6 separate regions of the Homo sapiens genome follow, and all the other regions are linked to region 5. Evidence: promoter capture Hi-C in 16 types of primary human blood cells and fetal thymus (Javierre and others, 2016). All regions are on one chromosome and are shown on one strand. The core of a region is centred on a gene start or on the middle of the fragment in contact, and the rest is flanking DNA. Distances in the headings are between cores, read along the strand shown. Region 1 overlaps MCM5 (minichromosome maintenance complex component 5). Region 2 overlaps MCM5 (minichromosome maintenance complex component 5). Region 3 overlaps RBFOX2 (RNA binding fox-1 homolog 2). Region 4 overlaps RBFOX2 (RNA binding fox-1 homolog 2). Region 5 holds the start of APOL6 (apolipoprotein L6). Region 6 overlaps RBFOX2 (RNA binding fox-1 homolog 2).

Evidence for each region. The method cuts DNA at HindIII sites, captures the fragments that hold promoters and counts their contacts. A CHiCAGO score of 5 or more calls a contact.
Region 1: a contact is called between a fragment that was not itself captured here and the fragment with the promoter of APOL6 in region 5, in 1 of 17 cell types (naive CD4 T cells). The highest score is 5.2, in naive CD4 T cells.
Region 2: a contact is called between a fragment that was not itself captured here and the fragment with the promoter of APOL6 in region 5, in 2 of 17 cell types (M0 macrophages and M1 macrophages). The highest score is 7.7, in M0 macrophages.
Region 3: a contact is called between a fragment that was not itself captured here and the fragment with the promoter of APOL6 in region 5, in 1 of 17 cell types (M1 macrophages). The highest score is 5.6, in M1 macrophages.
Region 4: a contact is called between a fragment that was not itself captured here and the fragment with the promoter of APOL6 in region 5, in 4 of 17 cell types (M2 macrophages, M1 macrophages, M0 macrophages and 1 more). The highest score is 6.9, in M2 macrophages.
Region 6: a fragment that was not itself captured here is called in contact with the fragment with the promoter of APOL6 in region 5 in 5 of 17 cell types (M1 macrophages, M0 macrophages, M2 macrophages and 2 more); the score reaches 10.9 in M1 macrophages.

Annotation. Positions count from the first base shown.
Region 1 is chr22:35,403,124-35,406,464 of GRCh38, reverse strand. It overlaps MCM5 (minichromosome maintenance complex component 5), which reads right to left. Exons shown (of 17, transcript NM_006739.4): 3 at 3,132-3,258; 4 at 2,923-3,051. Among named protein-coding and RNA genes, the nearest start is that of MCM5, 4.7 kb to the right of the region's middle. The HindIII fragment of the contact is 2,779 bases long and covers 1-2,715 here.
Region 2 is chr22:35,423,967-35,427,556 of GRCh38, reverse strand. MCM5 (minichromosome maintenance complex component 5) reads right to left here. Exons shown (of 17, transcript NM_006739.4): 17 at 2,126-3,403. The coding sequence ends at 3,302. Among named protein-coding and RNA genes, the nearest start is that of MCM5, 26 kb to the right of the region's middle. RefSeq lists enhancers at 196-701, 702-1,209, 1,210-1,715. The HindIII fragment of the contact is 1,521 bases long and covers 616-2,136 here.
Region 3 is chr22:35,830,921-35,834,636 of GRCh38, reverse strand. The region is part of intron 2 of RBFOX2 (RNA binding fox-1 homolog 2); the gene reads left to right. Among named protein-coding and RNA genes, the nearest start is that of APOL5, 110 kb to the right of the region's middle. The HindIII fragment of the contact is 6,874 bases long and covers 1-3,716 here.
Region 4 is chr22:35,846,067-35,849,910 of GRCh38, reverse strand. The region is part of intron 2 of RBFOX2 (RNA binding fox-1 homolog 2); the gene reads left to right. Among named protein-coding and RNA genes, the nearest start is that of APOL5, 130 kb to the right of the region's middle. The HindIII fragment of the contact is 2,053 bases long and covers 389-2,441 here.
Region 5 is chr22:35,646,957-35,650,562 of GRCh38, reverse strand. APOL6 (apolipoprotein L6) reads right to left here and starts at 2,117. Exons shown (of 3, transcript NM_030641.4): 1 at 1,940-2,117. RefSeq lists an enhancer at 2,113-2,412. The HindIII fragment of the contact is 8,876 bases long and covers 982-3,606 here.
Region 6 is chr22:35,884,286-35,887,964 of GRCh38, reverse strand. All of the region lies in intron 2 of RBFOX2 (RNA binding fox-1 homolog 2), which reads left to right. Among named protein-coding and RNA genes, the nearest start is that of RBFOX2, 140 kb to the left of the region's middle. The HindIII fragment of the contact is 1,512 bases long and covers 759-2,270 here.

The DNA of each region.
Region 1 (3,341 bases), core at 77-2,576, 240 kb after region 5:
GAGGAGGTGGGCACAGAGCTGCAGGGAGGGCCACAGCTCTTCTGTTCCGCTCAAAAAATGCTTCCAGAGCATCCACCCAGTGCCAGGCTATCTGGACCCTGGGGTTCAGAGGAGCCTCAGGCACAGCTCCTGCTTTTAAAGACCTCGCAGCACAATTGGGGGGGGAGGTGGCAGGGCAAGAGATACACTAAGCACATTTCACTACAAAGTGGCAGGTGCCAGGAGAGAGACCTGACCCCAGCTCTGATGGCGACATCCTTGGACCTGTAGAGTACAACACAGAACAAACCTGGGAGGCAGGGGCCCACATTCTAGTTCAAGTTCTGTCAAAACCTGCTGTGTGGTCTTCTGTCTGGGTCACTTCTCTTTGAGCCTCAGTTTCCCCATCTTAATGACTATTCCCACACCGGACAATAAGGCAGTAATATTTTTTCTTTTTTCTTTTTTTTTTTTTGAGACAGAGTCTTGCTGTGTCGCCAAGGCTGGAGTGCAATGGCAGGATCTCGGCTTACTGCAACCTCCGCCTCCCGGGTTCAAGCGATTCTCCTGCCTCAGCCTCCCAAGTAGCTGGGATTACAGGTAACTGCCACCATGTCCAGCTAACTTTTTGTATTTTTAGTAGAGACGGGGTTTCACTATGTTGGCCAGGCTGGTCTCGAACTCTTGACCTCAGGCAATTCACTGGCCTCGGCCTCCCAAAATGCTGGGATTACAGGCATGAGCCACCGCGCCCGGCCGTAATGTTAATTTTTAAGTGTGATGTTATTGTAGCTATGCCTTTAAAAATGACTCTTCAAAGGCTGGGTGCAGTGGATCACGCCTGTAATACCGACACTTTGGAAGGCCGAGGCGGACGGATCACTTGAGATCGGGAGTTCGAGACCAGCCTGGCCAACATGGTGAATCCCCGTCTCTACTAAAAATACAAAAATTAGCCAGGTGTGATGGCATATGCCTGTAATCCCAGCTACTCGGGAGGCTGAGGCCGGAGAATTGCTTGAACCGGGGAAGCAGGGGTTACAGTGAGCTGAGATCATGCCACTGCACTCCATCCTGGGCGACAGAGTCAAACTCCGTCTCAAAAAAAAAGAGATTCATCTTTTAGAGATACATGGAGAAATAGTTCCAGATCAAATTATATGATGTATGGGACTTGTTTCAAAAGAACTCCAGGGCCACAGATGAAACAAGATTTGGCATCTATGGATCACCTGAGGTCAGGAGTTCGAGACCAGCCTGGCCAACATGGTGAAACCCCATCTCTACTAAAAATTAGCCGGGCGTGGTGGTGTGTGCCTGTAATTCCAACCACTTGGGGGGCTGAGGCAGGAGAATCACTTGAACCCATGAGGCGGAAGTTGCAGTGAGCTGAGATCGTGCCACTGCACTCCAGCCTGGGCAACAAGAGCAAAAACTCCATCTCAAAAAAAAAAAAAAAAAAAAATTGGCCTCTAGTTGCTAATTATTAAGCTGGGTGATGAGTACAAGAGGATTCGTTATACGATTCTCTTTATATTCTAATGTTTGAATTATCCATAATAAAAAGTAAAACATAAATTCTCAGCCGATCCACTCCTTCCTATGGCCAGCCCTTGCCCTTCACAAAGCTCCTGAGCCACTAGTGTACAGGACTGGGACAATCTCTCTCCACCTTGTCTCCGTTTCTCAATGCCCTCCTCCGGCTGAACGAGAGAACCAGACATGAGCAGAAGTTTTGCTGGGGCTCTCAAAGAAAGCAGGAAGAGGCTGTGGGAAGCAGAAGCGAGGCTGGGGAGGCGGAATTCAAGACTCCATGCCTGCATCATTACAATAAAGTGACCATCACCACCTCAACCTAGCACCTGGTCAGTCTCAGCATAGTGGATGGAGGGATGCAATGAGGGATCCAATACCACCCATAAGCGTTCTTGCCCGGTATGTGAAATCGAAACACAGTCAGGCCTTTGCATCTAACTTCCAGCTTCCAAAAATCACGGGGGGGAAGGGGTATGTTGTAACCACCCCAAGGAGGCCTTCAGATAAATCTAAAAGGCAGCACATTCTACAGGATAATGGCTCCTGCTTCTTTAGCAAATCAATAATGTATCTGTGAAAGAACTTACACCCAGAGTAAAGGAAGCTGTCCTGGATTAAAAGAGATTTAAACAACAATCCAGTACAATGCCTGGTCCTGGCTGAGACACACGAGCTGTAAGAGTCATGTGAGGTAATTTGGTCAATCTGAATCTAGACTGTATATTCAATGATACTAAGAGATCTTTGATGTTTCAGTTGAGGTGCTAATGAGACTATGTAAGAAAACTTTTTTTTTTCGGGATAAAGTGTCATGTCTGTAATTTATTTTTTATTTTTAGAGACAGGGTCTTGCTCTGTCACCCAGGCTAAAGTGCTGAGAGGCACAATCAGAGCTCACTGTAACCTCAAATTCCTAGGCCCCTTGATCCTCCCACTTCAGCCTTCCAAGTAGCCTGGACTATAGGCATATGCCAGCATACCTAGCTTTGTTTTTTTTGTTTTTTTTTTGTTTTGTTTTTTGGAGAGCCAGGGTCTCAAACTCCCGGTATCAAGCAATCTTCCTCCCTCGGCCTCCCAAAGTGCTAAGATTAGAGGCATGAGCCACTGTGCATGAATTTACTTTAAAATTCTTTAGCAAAAAAGAAAAAGGACAAAATAGGAAACAACACAAAATGTTAATTATTAAATCTGGGTGAAGCTTTATGGGATTCATTATACTACTCTCTGCTTTTGGGTGTGTAATTTTTCATAACAAAAAGCAAAAAACAACAAACGATCCTTTTGTCTCCAGGAGGAGACAGGTTCAGAAAGGTCAAGTGCCTCACTCAAGGCCACACAGCTAGCACTCAGGTCTGGCTGCATCCAAAGCCCTCTGCACCATGCAGCAGCCACTGCCCTCCGACCCACCTTCAGGCTACGAATGCTGGAAGGGCTGGCGTCCGACTTGAGCATGACCTGGATGTCCTGGAGCACCTCCTCCCCAGAAGGCCGGGGCCGGGTCACCTCATCAGCTACCTCCTTGGCAGCTTCCTCCAGCTGGAGAAAGGGAAGGGCACAGGCTATTAGTAACTGGGGCAGAGCAGCCCTGGGAAGCTCAGGGATGGGGTCCCACTCACCAGCTGCAGGTGCTCGGCTGGCTGCTTGTACAAGTAGTCGGCCAGGTCCTCATCAAAGCTGGCCAGATCCTCCATCTCCACCTCAATCCAGTACTCCCCCAGGTTGTAATGCCGCTTGAGTTCATCCCTGGAGTGGGCACATAGCAGGGTGGGGCAGGAAGGGTGCAAAGAAGAGGAAACCAACACTGGCTGAGGTGTGCCTGCACCCCT
Region 2 (3,590 bases), core at 127-2,626, 220 kb after region 5:
AAAAAGGGAAAAAAATAAAAATAAAAAAATAAAGGCCTTGAAAGCCAAAAAAAAAAAAAATGTGTTAAATACCAAACAGACGTATTCATGTTTAAATACATATGGATAATAGTTACAACACCCAAAAACATAAAACCTTCTTCCATGAGCTGGTCTCTGGAATGCTTAACTTTCGCATTTTAGAAATTCAACATTTTTGTAATTTTGTTGCTTACAGGCAAGAGAATGGGACTTTAGGCTGCTCTTTATAAGCATTCTCTAAATAACATATTTGAAGTATGGGCCATCTTTATTTCCAATAAAGAGAAACCTAAATTGGATATAGCCTTTGCTATGTTTTCCAGCACTGGGTTTGTAAGTCCCTGTGCTCTGTGACTTTGGATCTGGTGGCTGGAAGCTCACAGGTCTGGTGAAGATCGTGTAGTTAGCATGTGTATCCTCCTCAGTGATACCTGCGCTTAGGCTTCCTGTCTGACACCAGTGGCCCACAATGGGTGCAAATTAAGTCATATGTGACTAAGGACAAGCAACATGGTCTTAGTTCCCAGATCAACAGAGGTGGTATCTGTGAACAGAGAGAGAAACCAGGTAAAAGGACTCCATCATGAGCAAGCTTGTCTGCTCTCTCCTTCCCAGACCTGGAACTGGAGAAGGGGTGGAGCGGCTCTCATAGTGGTGAGCGAAGTTGAGAGACCCATGCAGCCAGGAGTAGAGTGGGGCAGGGAACACAGCAGCAGAGGCTCGGCCTCTGCTCACACAAAAGCATGAAAAGGTGAAATCCGAGATGGCAGAGGCTGTGAGGCAGGGAAAACCACAGGCACCCAGCCCTTCCTGGGAGCACCTCCCCGGGGCCAGGCCCAGCTGCTCTGATGTCTACCCCCTCAGTTAATCCTCACAGCCACCCCTGGGTGAAAGGGCTACTGTACTGCTGTGCCCTTTCTACAGATGAAAGGAGGCTGAGGGGTGAAGTGATTTGCTCAGCAGAGAGAAATGTCCGCTGGGTCGCGGCCTGTAGCTGGTGAGGGTAGGGACAGATCTGAGAAGACAAGCCTAAGGGAGCCAGGTCACAGGTGAGTGAAGAGCTCAGCCACCCTGAGTGGCAGCACCAGCTCGGGAATCCAGCTCCCCCCCTTGCCCCACCTCCCTGCCTCTCTAGGTGTCACTGAGGCCTGACTGGAGATTCCACTAAGCCGAGCCCCAACTATTACTCAGCCTGAATGCTCCCCTCTCCTGGCCTCCCTTCAGGCTCTCTCCTCAGCCTTTGCTTTCCCCAACAAGCAGGTGTTTCCCTGGCTCAGGGGCCTCTCTTCATGCTGCTGCCCCGATCTGGAAGGAGACTGGCATGCTCTGAGCACAGCTGCTCCTCCTATGAGCCCTACCCCAACTACCACGGAAAAGCCAGTCGGACCCCCTTTGGCCTCTCAGTCCTGTGCCTGCCAGTCAGGCCACCTACCCCTGGGAACCTACCCCAGGGTCAGTCTCCCCCACCTGACTGGCACCTGCCTCCCCCAGGCCAGGACTGTCTCTGCCCAGCATCCCACTCAGGCCGAGGTCAGGGACTGCCAAGAGAGAATCTGGCAGAAAAGGTGACATGGGTGGAGTTCGGAGCCACCAGGTTTGAAGCCTGCCCTGCACTCCCTCACTGTGACACTTGACTCTCTGAGCCTCAGTTTCTCCACCTGTAAAACAGAGGTGACCACAGCAGCACCACCCACCACAGGGGTGGAGAAAAGGCCACCAGCAAAGTTGCCACTGCAGGGTGAACCTCATGAGAGTTCCACACTCCATGAACAAGCAGGACGGGAGGACCTTGGGCCTGAGATGCACGCGAGTCCCCACCTGAGCAAGATGAAAGGCTAGCAGGAACCGGAGATGCAGCCTTGGATGCAAAACCCACAGCGCGCCCAGTAAGGTTGCCACCCCACCAAGAAAACAAAAGCTGTTCCAGACACTCTCAAAATTATCAGAAAAGAAATGAGCTTTGAACGGGAGTGAGTCAGAGGAAAGCTGATTTAGCTCCTCTCATCTCTCCATTTCCCCGAACAGTATGGAATCAGAAAGGGCTTTGAGCTGCAGGAATCTTCTGCACAAAAATACATTTGTGATTCAACAATGACCAGGCGGATGCACCAAGCTTTCTTGTATTTTTAGAAAAATCAAATAATCTTACTTCAAGTTCGTGTCATTTTTACATGGCAATTACTTTTAAATACCTTATCTAATGTTCCATAGATTTCCAAATTCACGTTTTGCTTGACACTTTGTATTTCTAAATGTATTTTAAATATCAAATATTTTATTTCACTGATTTCTATTTAATTTTATGAATCCTAGCTTTTTTAAAAACACAAAACATACCAACTCAGAGTGACTTTCTGAAATTAGGCAAAGTGACCGAGGCACTTGGCAACACTCCTTCCTCCAGCATCACTGTCACTAGTGCCTTCTGTCATTCAATCCTCACAACTCAGGGTGAGGAATCCCCCCATCTCCAGTTTACTGATAAACTCAGGCACAGAAAAGTGAAATGTCTCGCCCAAGGCCACACAGTTACACGTGGCCCACCAGGAAAGAACTGGCTGGAGTCCTAGTTCCTGCCTGGTGGCCACTACATTCCCCTCACTAACAGCTGCTCACTGACCCTAAGCACAACCCTGTGAAGCAGGTTCTAGTATCAGCCTGCTTACAGATAAGGAAACTAAGGCATGGAGAGGGTCCATGAATCCAGGCAGTCTGACCGCCGCACCACGGCTCGCAGCCCCCCAATAAGTTACTGGGGAACAGGTGAGGCGGATCAAAATCACACACTTTGAGAAGCGCTTCCCCACTCCCTGGTCTCACTGGATTCCCAGCATCAAGGGAGTGGCTTTATGAGCCCCGCTAAACAGATGAAGAAACCGGAGCACTCAAGTCACGTGACTTACCCAGAAGTCTGAGTGGCAGATCCAAGTCAGAAACCCTGGCCAGTCTGCCTCCAGACCCTGTTCCCTCACACTTACCCTGCCATGAGGGCACGATGGAGGTGACAGGTCACCGAGTGCACAAACCCACAGATACCTGAACACACCGTGGCTTTATTATTAACGGATGCCAAAAGCACACTTCCCAGAACCGCGCTAGAGGCGGGCGCCCAGAGGCAGCAGGACACTACAGCTCCTTCCTCTGGGGCAGAAAGGAGGGTGCCTGGGAAGTTCGAGGGCTGCAGTGGGGAGGCAGAGGTCCCAGCAACATTGTCAATGGCAGGCAGCGGCAGGAGGGGCGAGGCGTGGGCGAGTCCATGAGTCCAGTGAGGCGGCGCGACTCACTTGAGGCGGTAGAGAACCTTGCGCTGCATGCGATGCTGGATCTCGCCGCGCCGCAGCATGAGCTGCAGCACCTTGTGGATGGCGTGCTCCGGGTATTTCTGTGGGAGCACATGGCTGGCTAACGGCACGTGCTGCCCGAGGGGACTCCGACAGAGCCCAGACATCCCCAGGCTCACGGGGAACTTTGTACTCAGGCTCCTTTGACCTAAAGGGCCCACACTTCCTGAGTGCCCACTGTGTACCAGACACTGAGGCACACGGAGGCTAAGCCACTTGCTCAAGGTC
Region 3 (3,716 bases), core at 1,202-3,701, 180 kb before region 5:
GTTTGTTCTACTCTTGAATATTTCTTCTCAAGGGCGACCTCTCCCTTAACTTTCCTAGCTAAACCAGCACTCCCTCATCACTCCTACCTTCATTCTGCTTTGTCTTCACTTGTCACTGATTTTAGTTCTTACCGTTGATTGTTATATGTTTGTTTGTTGTCTGTCTCCTCCCCGACCCCAAACAGAAGCTCCCTGAGATCAGGATCCTCGTCAGCAGTCTGTTGTATTCCCAGTGTGTAGAACAGTGCCTGGCACATAGTCATAATAAAAATAGCTAATCTTTATATATGCTTATGATGCATTAATATCAGATACCGTTCTAAGCACTTTACCCTCATTAACTCATTGAATCCTCTCAGCAGCTCTGTGTTATCTCCATTGTACAAAAGAGGAAACTAGGCATATGACGGTTAAGTAACTTGCCCAAGTTCAGACAGCTACTAAGAGATGTTGTGGGGAATGATATCCAGACAGACTGGCTTAGAAATTGATATTCTTAACCACTGTACTCTAATGCCCCTTGTAGGTATTGGGTATTCAGTAAATATTTGTTGAATGTGTGAATAAATTAATTTAGTTGAGACTCTGATTCATTTCTGAAATTTCCATCCCTGACTTAAGACTTTGATAAAACACTTGCAGTAATGGAATTCATTGTTGAATAAGATTACTTCATTCTTATAATATGTAATAAAGTATACATTATTCTATGATAAAAATATTAATATTATCTAATAATACTAAATAATAATGCAGAGCACATACTGTGCATTAAGCATTGTCTTAAGTGCTTTACATATTTTAGAGCATTTATTCCACTCAGCAGCCTTATATACTTACTCAGCAGTACTATTAATGTCCATGTTGTAGAAATTAGGAAACCCAAGGAGTTTGGCTCCAGCATTTCTGTTCTTAACCACCACTAATAATGACCATTATAAAAATGTTTTTGTTTTTTTATACCTACTTTGTGCCAGTCAATTTTACATACATAGCACATTTACAAACATAATTATTCATATTATGTATCACTTGTCAATCATCTTTGAGATAGGTGAGGTTTTTCCCATTTTTTGCAGGAGACTTTGAGATTCTAAAGATCAGGCAGCCTGGAAACAGAGAGAGATAGGTTTCAAACTGGAGATCTATTTAGTCCCAAATTCGCATGCTCTTCCATTATTCTGTGAACCTCATAAGATAAATAGTTCCATTGTTGGCCATGATAAGTAGAAAAGTTTTCTTTATGAGCTGAAATCTGTTTTCATGATTGTCTTCTCACTCCTTCTCATTTTCTCATCTGGAGTTGCATTGAGTGGTTTCATGTCTTCTACATAAAAACCAAATATTTGAAGATACTGCTGAACGTTCCCTTTAATCTTCTGTTGCCTTGCTTATTTTTCCTACTTCCTTGAATTACTCCTCATAGATATGAAAACATACGGTTTCCAGAATGTTTACTGACTGTCCTGGACTAGTTGCATTAATTTATATGAATGATTTGTCATTTATGTCTAATCACTAAGTAAAAATATCAATTATGATTACTTTTTAAGTTTTATTGATGCATAATTATACATATTTATGGGGTACATATGATATTTTGATACATGCGTATAATGTGTAATGATCAAATCAGTAATTAGGATACCCATGACCTCAAATATTTATCATTTCTTTGTATAGAGAACATTTCAAATCTCCCCTTCTAGCTATTTTGAAATACACAATAAATTATTGTTAACTATAGTCACTGTGCTGTTGAATATTAGAACTTCTTCTTCTTCTTTGTTTTGGAGACTGAATCTCACTATGTTGCCCAGGCTGGAGTACAGTGGTGCAGTCTTGGCTCAGATCTTGGCTCACTGCAATCTGCGCCTCCTGGGTTCAAGTGATTCTCCTGCCTCAGCCTCCCAAGTAGGTAGGACTACGGGTGCATGCCACCACACCTGGCTAATTTTGTAATTTTAGTAGAGACAGGGTTTCACCATGTTGGCCAGGCTGCTCTCGAAATTCTGACCTCAAGTGATCTGCCTGCCTCTGCATCCCAGAGTGCTTGGATTACAGGTGCGAGCCACTGCACCTGGCCAAGAACTTATTTCTTCTGTGTTTTTGTACCCAGTAACCAACCTCTCTCCATCCCCTGCCTCCTTCCCAGCATTTGCTAAACATTCTACAGTTATGAGTATTAAGTATCATATCTTTGTTATAAGTTTTGTTTTATGATAACATGTTTGGCTTTAGTCAGTTTCTTTTTTGTTGTTTTTGAGACAGGGTCTCACTCTTTCGCCCAGGTTGGAATGTAGTGGTGTGATCTCGGCTCACTGCAACCTCCGCCTCCTGGGTTCAAGTGATTATCCTGCCTCAGCCTCCCAAGTAGCTGGGACTACAGGTGTGCGTCACCATGCCCAGTTAATTTTTGTACTTTTTGGTAGAGACAGGGTTTCACCATGTTGGCCAGACTGGTCTTGAACTCCTGACCTCAGGTGATACACCTGCCTCGACCTCCCAAAGTGCTGGGATTACTGGCGTGAGCCATCGCATACAACTGGCTTTAGTCAGTTTGTATAGCTCATTGAACATGTAGTGTTGTTGGCAATTTATAATTTCAAAAATGAAGGGATATTACCTTGAACTCCTAAAAAGAATAAATAGAATATTGTTTTTCTCTCCACTATAAAGCATGCCCTCAGCTGATTGGCAGGAATCTACCTGTCTTTTAGTATCTGAGTCTTGCCCTGATCCCTCAAAGGTTACTGTCACTGAGTAATGGAAGTCAATAATTATTTTATGAAATTATAAATGAATGCTTTTATGTCCACAAATGATACAACTGTATTCTTTTTTCCTAATGTTAATTATGATTCCTCATAAGAAGTTTGGAAGAGACAAACTGGGACTTAAGTGAAGGAGATTGGGTTTTGAAAAGACTCTTAACTGAGAGCAAAGATCCACGAACTTTTTCTGTAAAGGGCCAGATAGTAAACAATTTTGGCTTTGCAAGCCATGTTGTTTCTGTCACAACTACCCGGCTGTGCTGATGAAGCATTGAAGAAGCTATAGATGATAAGTAAATGAATCGTTGGTTGTAGCTGTGTTCCAGTAAAACTATTTACGGACACTGAAATTTAAGTTCCATGTAATATGTATGTGTCACAAAATATGATTCTTTTAACTTTATTTTTAATTTATTATTATTTTTTTTTTGAGACAGAGTCTCTCACTATCACCCAGGCTGGAGTGCAGTGGTGCGATCTCGGATCACTGCCAGCTCTGCCTCCTGGGTTCACGCCATTCTCCTGCCTCAGCCTCCCAAGGGCAGGTGCCTGCCACCATGCCTGGCTAATTTTTTGTAATTTTAGTAGAGACAGGATTTCACCATGTTAGCCAGGATGGTCTCGATCTCCTGACCTTGTGATCTGCCCACCTCGGCCTCCCAAAGTGCTGGGATTACAGGCGTAAGCCACCGTGCCTGGCCTCTTAACTATTTAAAAACGTAAAACCATGCTTAGCTTGCAGGTTATGCAAAAGTAGGTGGAGGGCTGGCTTTGAACCACAAGCTATAGTTTGCTGATCCCTGACTCAGAGGGATACAGGACCTCGCAATTTCCTTTATAGCATACGTAAGGTTTTCCCATATAGCTTCATGACAGAGAGACAGTTTTGAGTGGTTCTAGCAGGTCATGATGGATCCCTTTTATAATAGAATGAATCCCCTG
Region 4 (3,844 bases), core at 166-2,665, 200 kb before region 5:
GTAACAGCAAATCTCCAGTGTAGTTTTCAGTCTGTAACTAGTAACTCAAAGCTTTTTGCTTTTTTCTGAACATCTCTTCTGTGTATTGTCAAATCCTGTTGGGGTGGAGGCCTGGTCTCAACCAAGCTCCGACTTCATCAGCTGAGCCAGCATACCTATCTGCGTAGACTGGAGGTCAGCGAAGGATTTTTTTGGTGCTACCTAGTTCCTTTGGACAGGACAGCCAGCGCAAACAAGGCAAAAACTTAGACACTTTTTGTACTGTCCTTATCTGAAGATTTTTTCCCTTTTGCTATGTATGGTGTATATTGTATGGATTATCAATATCCTGTTGTCCAGGTAAGCTAAGGGTTATAATTTCTAGATACTGTTTGATTTATGTGAAGCTTTATGGTGGAATGAAATGCCTACAAGGCTTTCTGTCTTTTGACCCGGTACCATTCAGAGCCTAGCTTTCCCAGTGCTTTTTGCTAATTTACTGTAATAAGAGGATTTAATTTATAGTATTGGCGGCCAGACAAAGGTGGTTGGCATTCACCCCTAGAAGTTCTGAAACTTTGGAGAGATTCTGTGTGTCTGTGTGTGTGTGTGTGTGTGTGTGTGTGTGTGTGTTTGTGTGTGTATGTGTGTGTGTGTGTTTTGAACCAGGTGGGCTGGACAATATAAATGTAATGTAAAAAACCCATCATATTATGATAAACTTTAGGCTTTGTTTTGAGCAGATGAGAGGCACAGTTGGCAGTTTCCAAATGTTGTATTTTCCAGAAAGGTAATATATAAAGTAGAGGGCATCTTTCCCCACTAAGACTATTTTTAGTCTAACGTTTTAGACTATTTTGTGATGACATTAGTAACATCTTATTTGTTAACTTGTTGAAATTTAGAATCAGAAAATGTTAGGTCATTGCCAAGCATATTTCTGAATATCTTATAGTAAGAAAAATTGAAGTTAGGAGTCCTGGATTCTGGTTCCAGCAATAGAGTTAACCACCACCATGTTCATGCTCAAATAACTTCAATTTTTCTTGACTTTAGTTTTGTTGTATATAAAATGAAGGAGTTGGGCCAGATGACCTCTGAGCTATCATGATTTTTTGAAATATTGTGATGGAAACCTAGAATAAGAAAATAAATACAGTTAATACAATTAATTCTGAATTAAAGATACTACTTGGTCTGTCAGTTTGTTTTAGTTTGTTTTCATGTTCCTTTAATTATTTTTTTCTTTCAAATAGCCATTTCTCTAATAATTAGCACCTATGTTGCAGGTTGGACCGGAATGCATAGAGTTAAAAGAAATAATGGACTAACTAGTACATCTTATTAGGTATTTTGGGCCTAAAGGCCCAAGCTATTTTGGATTGGGCCTGTTGGGTAAGCTCTCTGGAGTAAACTTACAGCTTTCATTCAAGTCTAAAGCTATCAATATTGCAATCATATGGCAGTGGCTGTGATTATGTTTCTCTTTAACTATATTCTAATAGAGGTCTATATTATATGTTTTATATTAATGATATAACTGTTTCTGTTATTTTGGATTATTCAAATTAAGAGTATTTTATATTTACGATAATGAGGTTTTGATATATTTGTGGATTTCACTTATCTATGAACTGTATCTCTACTGACATAAAACAATAGCTTGGGCTTTGTAACAGCTTAAGGCTGGAAGTGTTATGAGACTAGATTAGAACCAGGTCTTTTTACAAGTAAATATTAATGTGCTTTCAATGAGAAACATCTGTGAACAGTAAATTTCTGACCCACAACCAGCAAAGTATGGGAATTATAGTAACTATAACATAAGTAAAATTCTTTGAGGAAAAAGTTGAAAAAGTAAAAATGTTTCCCAAGTGAATTGAAGTATTAGACATATATGAAAAAATAATTACAGTATGTAATTGAATTTTTTGAGGAAGGAAATTGACCATCTCCCCCTCCCAATTTTGGGGTGGATTAAAGAGTTCCTGTTCAGAAATTATGACATGGTTTGATGAAAGTCTTTTGCAGCAAAATTCTAATCAATATTCATAATAAGATGAATTTTCCACCCCCAATTTTTTTGGTTATTAGTATTTAGTACTGATAAATGTAGTGCACAGTATTTGAAACTACACTTTCCTGGCTTTACTCCATTTGTAGGTTTATTCTATCTGAAATTAACGTCGTTTAGAAATGGAGGTAATGGGATATTAAAATTTAAGGGTTTACTCTCCATTCTGCCACATAGGAAAGCTAATGGGATTAAAAAAAAACAATTTTAAATTGAAGGATCCCAAGCTATTTTACAATCTTATTTATTACTTTTTTAAAGTAACAGTTTTTTTCAGTGCATTTATAAATGAGTAGTAGATGGTTGGTTACTACCCAAACTCTTAACTACAGTTATAAAATGTTTTTAGCTTCTTTTATATATTCTTTTGCTTAGTTAAATCCAAGCTTTCCATTGCATAATGCTTGCAGTTTCATACTAATGCATTATACAGTTGGACGTTATGGAGGACATGATTGAACAGTATTTCTTTTAATGAAAGGTTTTACATCTATTTTTAATTAAGTTATTTCTAGAATTGCTAGTTTTGAGTTAATGAAACAAAGTGAGTTCTCTTCAACAGAAAGTTCGAAAATATTTTAGGTACTTGACCTTTCATTGCTAAATCATGCCTATTTTAAGAGTGTGCCATTGAAAATGATTATTTTATTAGTTATAATTTTCGTAGAACCTAGTCTGGCCAAATTAGTTTAAAATCAGGCAGAGTAAGGAGATACAGGCTTGCTTGTGATTTAAGGGACAATGAATGTAGTCTCCCTGCCCAGACAAATCTATTTAAGAAACTGTTCCTGAAGTTATTCTTATAGACAGTCTTTCAGATTAAACATTTACTGCCTCTGATCAGATGGTTAAAATGTAACTTGTTGCAAGTTAAGGGTATTGTCTTTTATCACAGGTTTTCCTTAGGCACTTTTACTTAACCTGTCATCCAAGTGGTGAATGGGGCAGTTGGAGGAAGAGGAAACAGGGTCTTAAATTATTGGAGGTATAGCTAAATTTCCTGATTTGAGGGTTTAGGGTAGCCAAGGACAGCTTAAGGATATTAGGCATCTAGAAAATTGAGAGACAGAAATTTACCTATCTAAAGGACACTTTTTCTTTTGAAACAGAGTTTCTTTCTTGTCACCCAGGCTGGAGTGCAGTGGTGTTATCTCGGCTCACTGCAACGTCTGCCTCCCGGGTTCAAGCAGTTCTCCTGCCTCAGCCTCCCAAGTAGCTGGGATTACAGGTGGGCATCACCACACCCAGCTAATTTTTTTTTTTTTGTATTTTTAATAGAGACAGGGTTTCACCATGTTGGTCAGGCTGGTCTTGAACTCCCATCCTCGGGTGATCCACCTCCTCGGCCTCCCAAATTACAGGCGTGAGCCACTATGCCCAGCCTAAAGGACACTTTTGATATTGAGGTATGCTCAGGTCCTCAAAATGCTGTAGAGTATATTAGGCTCTCCATTTCTTCATGGGAAGTTGACCTTGGTGTTAAGCAGTACACACACACACACACACACACACACACACACACACACAACTATATAAATTTATTTACTTATATAGTTTATACTTATATAGTTTGTGTAATTATATTAACTTATATAGTTTATACTTACATAGTTATATAATTATATTAACTTATATAGTTTATACTTATATAGTTTATGTAATTATATTAACATATGCAAGTTTATAATTATAGTGTATGTAATTATATTAACATATGCAAGTATAGTTTATACTTATATAGTTTATGTAATTATATTAACATGCAAGTTTATACTTATATAGTGTATGTAA
Region 5 (3,606 bases), core at 868-3,367:
AATTTAGAAATAAATTATAAAATCCACCTTACGCTCACCATATGGAAATGCATGCTGTTCATGTAGTTTGTGTGAATTCTTGTCACCTAACATTGTATCTTAGTAGTTCCCCAGGCGATACATAGAAGCCATGTCGCATTTCATTTTACGAATGTATCATTACACATTCAATAACTCTCTCACTGTTGAACCTTTGGGTTGTTTTCAGTTATTTTAAAATTTTGTATTTATAATTTTTGGTTAAAATCCTTATATAGACGTCTGTCTACATGTTTGGTTATTTCTTTGGGGTAGTCTATGAAAAAGAATGAATGCTTCAAAGATAAAAACCTTCTCCCCTCTTTGGTATGTGAAGCTAGGTTTGGTTTAGGGGGCTTGGCACCTTTAAGAGTTTACTTTCACCAGACATACATCTACCTGCTTTACACAGTGACCCAGTGAGATCGGTGCTAAGATGATGCCCATTTTACAGAGGTGCAAACTGAGACATAGGGAGGCCAGTGTCACACAGTAAGCAGGAAAGCCTGTGCAATTCCAGCCACGCAGAGTCTGGAGTAGTTGGTCCCAAACAGGGCGTGTTTGCTCCTCAGGGACACTGCTAATATCTGGAAACATTTTTGATGGTCTCAGCTGGAGAGGGTACTGCTGTTGGTATGTAGAGGGCAGAGGCCAGGGATGCTGCCAAGCACCCTACGATGCAGAGGACAGCCCCCACAACCAGGGATCACCTGGTTGAACATGACAAGGTTGCTGGGGGTAAGAGACTCTGGTCTGGAACCCCATTTTTTACCAGCGTCCGCCAATACCTCTCTCATTTTTTTACATTAGTCCTATGGGATGCAGGGCAAAGGTAACAGCAGGAAACTCATCTAAGCAGGTCCCATTCCATCCCCTCTGACCTGCTCTTGGTGGTTGCGAGAGGATTTGCTTGTGAGAGGTTTATTGGAAGAGGATTTGAGAACTTACTTTCATTTGAAAGCTTACAGGATATTTATGACAGTCTTTCCTTACCTGCCTTCCCCCACAAAACCAACTTCTGCAGATACACAATCTAAGTAAGAAAAATCTGCTTACTTTGAAAACACAGCTTCAAGATAACCTCCCTAGATTTTTTTTTTTTTTTTTGAGACCGGGTCTCACTCTGTTGCCCAGGCTGGAGTGCAGTGGTGCGATCACTGCTCACTGCATTCTTGACTTCCTGGGTTCAAGTGATCCTTCCACCTCAGCACCCTCCCAAGTAGCTGGGACTACAGGTGTGCACCATCACGCCCAGCTATTTTTTGATTTTTTGTAGAGACGGGGTCTCACTATGTTGCCCATGCTGGTCTCAAACTCTTGGGCTCAAGCAATCCGCTTGCCTTAGCCTCCCAAAATGCTGGGATTACAGGCATGAGCCACTGCGCCTGGCCTAGTCGCCCTAATATTTATCACAAACTCCCTCACCCTCTTCCCCAAACAACTTCACATAAATCTACAATCTAGAAAACTCTGTAGGTTGGCTTTGCAGTTTCTAGACAACTCACCCAGCACCTTTTTTCTTGTGAGATGACACCCCTAAACCACTCCTCTACTGAATTTCTAGGGAAACGCCTGTGGCTGATGTAATCATCTGCTTTCTAAGGGCCAGGTCCCCTCTGCCTAAGCCCTCGGATCCCCAGCAGTGGAGGGACAAATGCAACTTGGCTAGTCACATCGCATGCTTTAGCATGTTTCAATTTAACCCTGAAATGGCTGTAAGGGAGGGAAACCTACCAGGATTAACACAGGAGAAGTTAATCCTCAGACTCTCCTCAAGCTCTGGCTGGCATTTGAACCCCGCTGCTTTCACAGCAGCTCTTTTCCCTGAGTCAGGTGCCTAAAGCCAACCCCTTGGGGGCTCTGTCCTTCAGGGACCAGAGCGGCAGCCCCCTCCTCCCCCGACTTCTGCCCGCCGTCTCACCTTCTCTCCACGGAGCTCTCCTTTGTGGCCTTGGGTCCCGAGGGAGAGGAAGATCCTGAACCTCTGTCCTTGCCTCTCCGAGGTCCCCTGGTCTGGCAGGGGGCTGTGAGTGTCTGGGCTGGAGAAAGACGGATAGGAAGAGTAGGGTGGCCTTTGAACAGGAATTGATTGCAAAACTGGTTTCGGTTAAGTGCTGCAGGAGAGAAAAAGCAAAGCTCTAGGGCTCTTCCAGGAAATCATGGGCTCCAGCTGTCACTTTCAGTTTCCTTTTTGCCAGTTTCTCTAATTGGATGAACAAGGAGGTGAAAGAGCAGAATCCAAGTCAGGAGGCCTGAGTCTCTCGTCTCTGTCCTGGCTGTGTTATAGGATGGACCTATATGGGGTATGAAAATAGCTCCTGTGGCTTAGAGCTATGGTGAGGAGCCCATGAGCAAGCGATGGGGCGCCTGTTGAATAGTGGATTCACAGTAGCTGTCATCACTGATTGTTCTGAAACTGCTTTCCTCCACAGCATCTTACGTGACGCTGATGTGGGTAACAACCCTATGAGGTGCACAGCATTAAAGGGCTAATAACTCTGAATGCAGAATCCTCTGAAAATGGAAACTTTATTTTATTATTATTATTATTATTGTTTTTTGAGATGAAGTCTCGCTCTGTTGCCCAGGCTGGAGTGCAATGGCACGATCTCGGCTCACTGCAACCTCCGCCTCCTACGTTCAAGCTATTCCCCTGTCTCAGCCTCCCTAGTAGCTGAGATTACAGGCACCTGCCACCACGCCCGGCTGATTTTTGTATTTTTAGTAGAGATGGGGTTTTGCCATGTTGGCCAGGCTGGTCTCAAACTGCTGACCTCAAATGATCCATCCATCTAGGCCTCCCAAAGTGCTGGGATTACAGGCGTGAGCCACCGCACCTGGCCTCAGAATGAAAACTTAAAAAAAAATGATAATTTATTCATTTAGTGGCAAAACCTGACCTGATCTGGCATGAATTCACCTGTGGTTTTTATGTCTCCTGCTTAATTTGAATATTTACAGTCACTGCAGAAATATTAATATGTTTGACTGAGGAGGGCTGCTGCGGGTGCGTGGGTTACATAGTACACGATACCTGCACCCCATTACCTTTCTAAAAATCCCCCAAATCAGGAACTCTGACATGCATCTGGCCTCAAGGATTGGAGATATAGGATTGTGATACTCTGTCTCCCACTTTAAGGAAGAGGAAACCCAGGCTTCTAGAAGTTGTGGGTTGTTTGTGATTACACAGCTAAGAACCAGTCCTAGGCTCTGTGTCTACAAGAATGAGCCCACAGTGAGGTTACGGGCTGAGATCTGTGTCTCTCTAGCATTTGTGTCAAATTGTGATCAGAAGCCATGTGGTTTGTTTGTATTTATATGCCCAGAAGTCCCCAGTCACCACCCCTAGCTGAGACCACATTGGAGGCTGTTGCTTTGCAGAAGGTGCGGCCCACCTAGCCAGTCCTGGCTTTGCTGTGATAGAGGCCACCTCCTGTCCCTGGGCCCTACGAGCAGGAATGAGGGGTTAAGGGCTGCTGAGTTGGGTCTTGTAGGGGCCTTTCCAACCGTGGCATCCCGGATTCCACAACCCACCCCTGCTCCTGGCCTCCCACACTTGGGGAACACGCTAAACACAGCCTGACC
Region 6 (3,679 bases), core at 265-2,764, 240 kb before region 5:
TACATCAGCCTGTAAACTATAGATCTTAAGGAGGCTGGAGAATTGCCACAGGGGTCAAACTACTATTGTAAGCAAACGCTTGATGGTGTGATAATAGAATACTTGAAATTTTTGTAGGTAATGATTGTATTAGAATATGATGCTAGGTGAATGGCTTTAGGTGAGGTGGTGGAAAAATACAGTTGGTGCTAAAGACTTCAAAAAGAAGGCCAAAATGTTGAATCTATGTGGCTGTTGAAGTTATCAGAGTGATAAGACTAACAATGGAGATGAAATCAGGGAGCCCTATTTAGCAGGGGACAGGTGCAGTTTGCCTGGAGGGAAGAGAAGTGGTTTGGAAGCAGTATTGGGAAGGAAGGAAGAGGATATCTGGAAGGTCCAACACTATATGGTAATGGGGAGTAAGGCCGATGCTTGCCCCTGCTGAGGTATGTGATGAGTAAGAAAAAAGTGTTTACTGTAGAAGCAACAGTAATCTCAGGGGCAGTCTGGTTTCCTTAAGATCAAAAGAGTAAAGAGAATATCACAGAAGAGAGGTGAGTGTGTAGAGGAGTTTGCTGAGAATAGCCCATGACCTCCAGGGCGTGGGAGGGCAAGGAAGTGCAGGAGATGGGATCAGAAAAGGCATAGAGAACAGTTACCATTGTAGTTGTTCAGGTATGAGGTAAAAGGGCCTTGAGGTCAGGGTTTGACAATGAGAATAAAGATTTTAAGTAGATAGGAAAGGCTTACGCATGAATGCTAAAATATGGCAAGCTTCAGTTATTTAGGAAAGCCGCCTTTACTATTTGTTTTAATATGACATTTAATGTTAAACAACTATCTCTTTCTGGTCATGTTTCAAATCAGAATATGGAATTTTGTTGTTGTAAAATATATAAATTAAGGACTAAATTTGGAACCAAGTAAGTAAATACTTAGTAGATTTTAAATTGTTCGTTTGGAGGAGCAGAAAATCAGCGTGGTCAAAGCACACATATTGACAAGACGGAGAGGGAGGGTGGAGGATTAAACACCCAAGATATATTTCCTCTGGTCCTTTTCCCAACAACGACAAAAATATATTTTAGGAGTTGTAGTCTTACTTCACTAACTCCCCTTTCTCCTTCTTGGTTCTGGAAAACTGTACAGTCGTGTACCACATAAAGACGTTTCAGGTAGCTATGAACTGCATCATTCATCAGTGCAGTTCAATGCATCAGTCAATGCAGTTGAAGGCATCAGTCAATGCAGTTCAATCTTACGGTGGTTTCATAAGAGTGTATAAATAACAATTGTATCTTTACTGTCCCTTCTCTGTGTTTAGGTACATAAATACCATTGTGTTACGATTACCCACAGTAGAGTATTCAGTAGTCACCTGCTGTACATGTTTGTAGCCTAAGAGCAATAGGTCGTACATACCGTATAGCCGAGGTGTGTAGTAGGCTAGGCCATCTGAGTTTATGTAAGTACACTCTATGATGATCTCACAACTATGAAATCACCTAACAACACATTTCACAGGATGTGTGCCTGGCATTAAGCAGCACATGACTATATTGCTTTTAAAAGTTGTAATCCAGTTGAAAGCATTACATTCCTGTTTAGAATTAATAGGTTTTTCTGAATGTGAGAACTTGGTGCTCCTCTTCACACATTTTTTTTTAGCATCTTTCACTATTATTAAATAAGAGAACATATGTTACTTGTAATTGAAGGCCAGCATAGAATAGACATTCCACAGATATTGGTTGAAAAGTTAATTGGATATTCTAGGTATAATGAACTGTCTGGGTAGCAAAGTGTTCAACTAAAATATTGTGTTTGGGCCGGGCGCGGTGGCTCACGCCTGTAATCCCAGCACTTTGGGAGGCTGAGGTGGGCGGATCACGAGGTCAGGAGATCGAGACCATCCTGGCTAACATGGTGAAACCCCGTCTCTACTAAAAATACAAAAAATTAGCCGGATGTGGTGGTGGGTGCCTGTAGTTCCAGCTACTCAGGAGGCTGAGGCAGGAGAATGGCGTGGACCCGGGAGGTGGAGGTTGCAGTGAGCCCAGATCGTGCCACTGCACTCCAGCCTGGGCAACAGAGTGAGACTCTGTCTCAAAAAAAAAAAAAAAAAAAAAAAAAAAAAAATTAGGTTTGGGTTTCACTTAACCCAAATCTATAGGCTCTGTACTGTCTTCATTGTGTATTAACTTGTACGGTGTTTTACTTGCTTATTTAAATATAGACCATCTATTCAGAGGTTAAATAAATCAAGAGGGAGGTAAGAGTCAGAAGCTTATGTTGTTTATGCGGGGAAACGACCTAGCTTTCATTCCCTAAAATAACTGTCAAATTATTTTTCCTGAGTGTGTGAGATGAACTTTAATCACTGGCAAGATTCTTGTATCCATGAAAATCAGAAAACTGACTATGGTTTCATTGTGTTTCTCATCATACGCTAGTTACATTTCTGTCCCTGGCCTAGTCATTAGCCTGCCATATGATTAGACAGATGATCTTTATGCTCTTGTGTCTCATCTGTAAAATGGGCATGATTTTTCCCAGTAGAATTGTTAAGTATTATTTCTTAGATAAATTGACATTCACATAAAATATTCTTAATGATTTATTTATTCTGCTTCTTGTACAGTACTTGAAATTGCCAGTTAGGTAAAAAACATCATGGTTTTTTTGGCAAGGTGGGACTGAAGGTCTCACTAAACAGTACAGTAGATGCCAAAGGCTGGGCAGGGGTAGGTGGTCAGAGCACGTGTTGGGAAGATCAGTTGTTGCTGTGTCTGTGTTCTCCTCTGCTATATTTAAGTAATTTTAGATATTTATTTTTATTTTTGTGTTTAATTTTATTAAATTAAGGTTATTAAAAATAAGTTTCTTGGATTCATTGAAAATCAAAACCATTTTTGCATGTTGCTCAACAAGTTGCTCTAATATTGGATGTTTGCAGATAATATTCAAACTGGAGAAATTTTCGATTGTTAAAGGCAGTTGGGATTGGAAGAGATAAGAAAACAAATTCCCAAGTGCCTCCTATGATAGGAGGCACTGGGTCTGATGCTTTCATTACTATTATCTTGTTTCATCTTACAACGGGGAAGGAAGATTCAAATGCGCAGTCTTGCTTCAGAGTCAGTACTCTTAACCAATATGTTGTAATACATTCAGCTAGTCTGTGATAGGCAGCATCTAAGATGGTCCCTAGTGATCCCCACCTCCTGATATTCATACCCTTGTGTATTATCTTCCCCTTATAGGCTGGACCTAGTGACTCACTTTGAATGCATAGAATATGGAAAATTGATGAGATGTCACTTCTAAGATTTGGTTACAAAGAGACTGTGGCTTTTATCTTGGGTGCTTGCCCTCTCTACCTTTCTCTCAGAGCCCCTACACTGTTAAGTAGCCTTGTGGGAAGGCCCAAGAGCCAGTGATGTCTAGGCCTAACAGCTAGTGACCTGCCAGCAGCCAGGTGAGTGAGTTTGGTGGTGGATCCTTGATAGTCAAGCTTTAATGATTGCAGCCCCAGCCAACACCTTGACTGCAGCCTTGTGAGAGTCCCTGAACCAGAAGCACTTAGCTTACCCAGCTGGATTTCTGATCCACATAAACTGAGATAATAAATGCTGTTTTAAGCTACTGTGATTGAAAATGAATTGTTACATAGAAATAGATAACTAGGCCGGGTGTG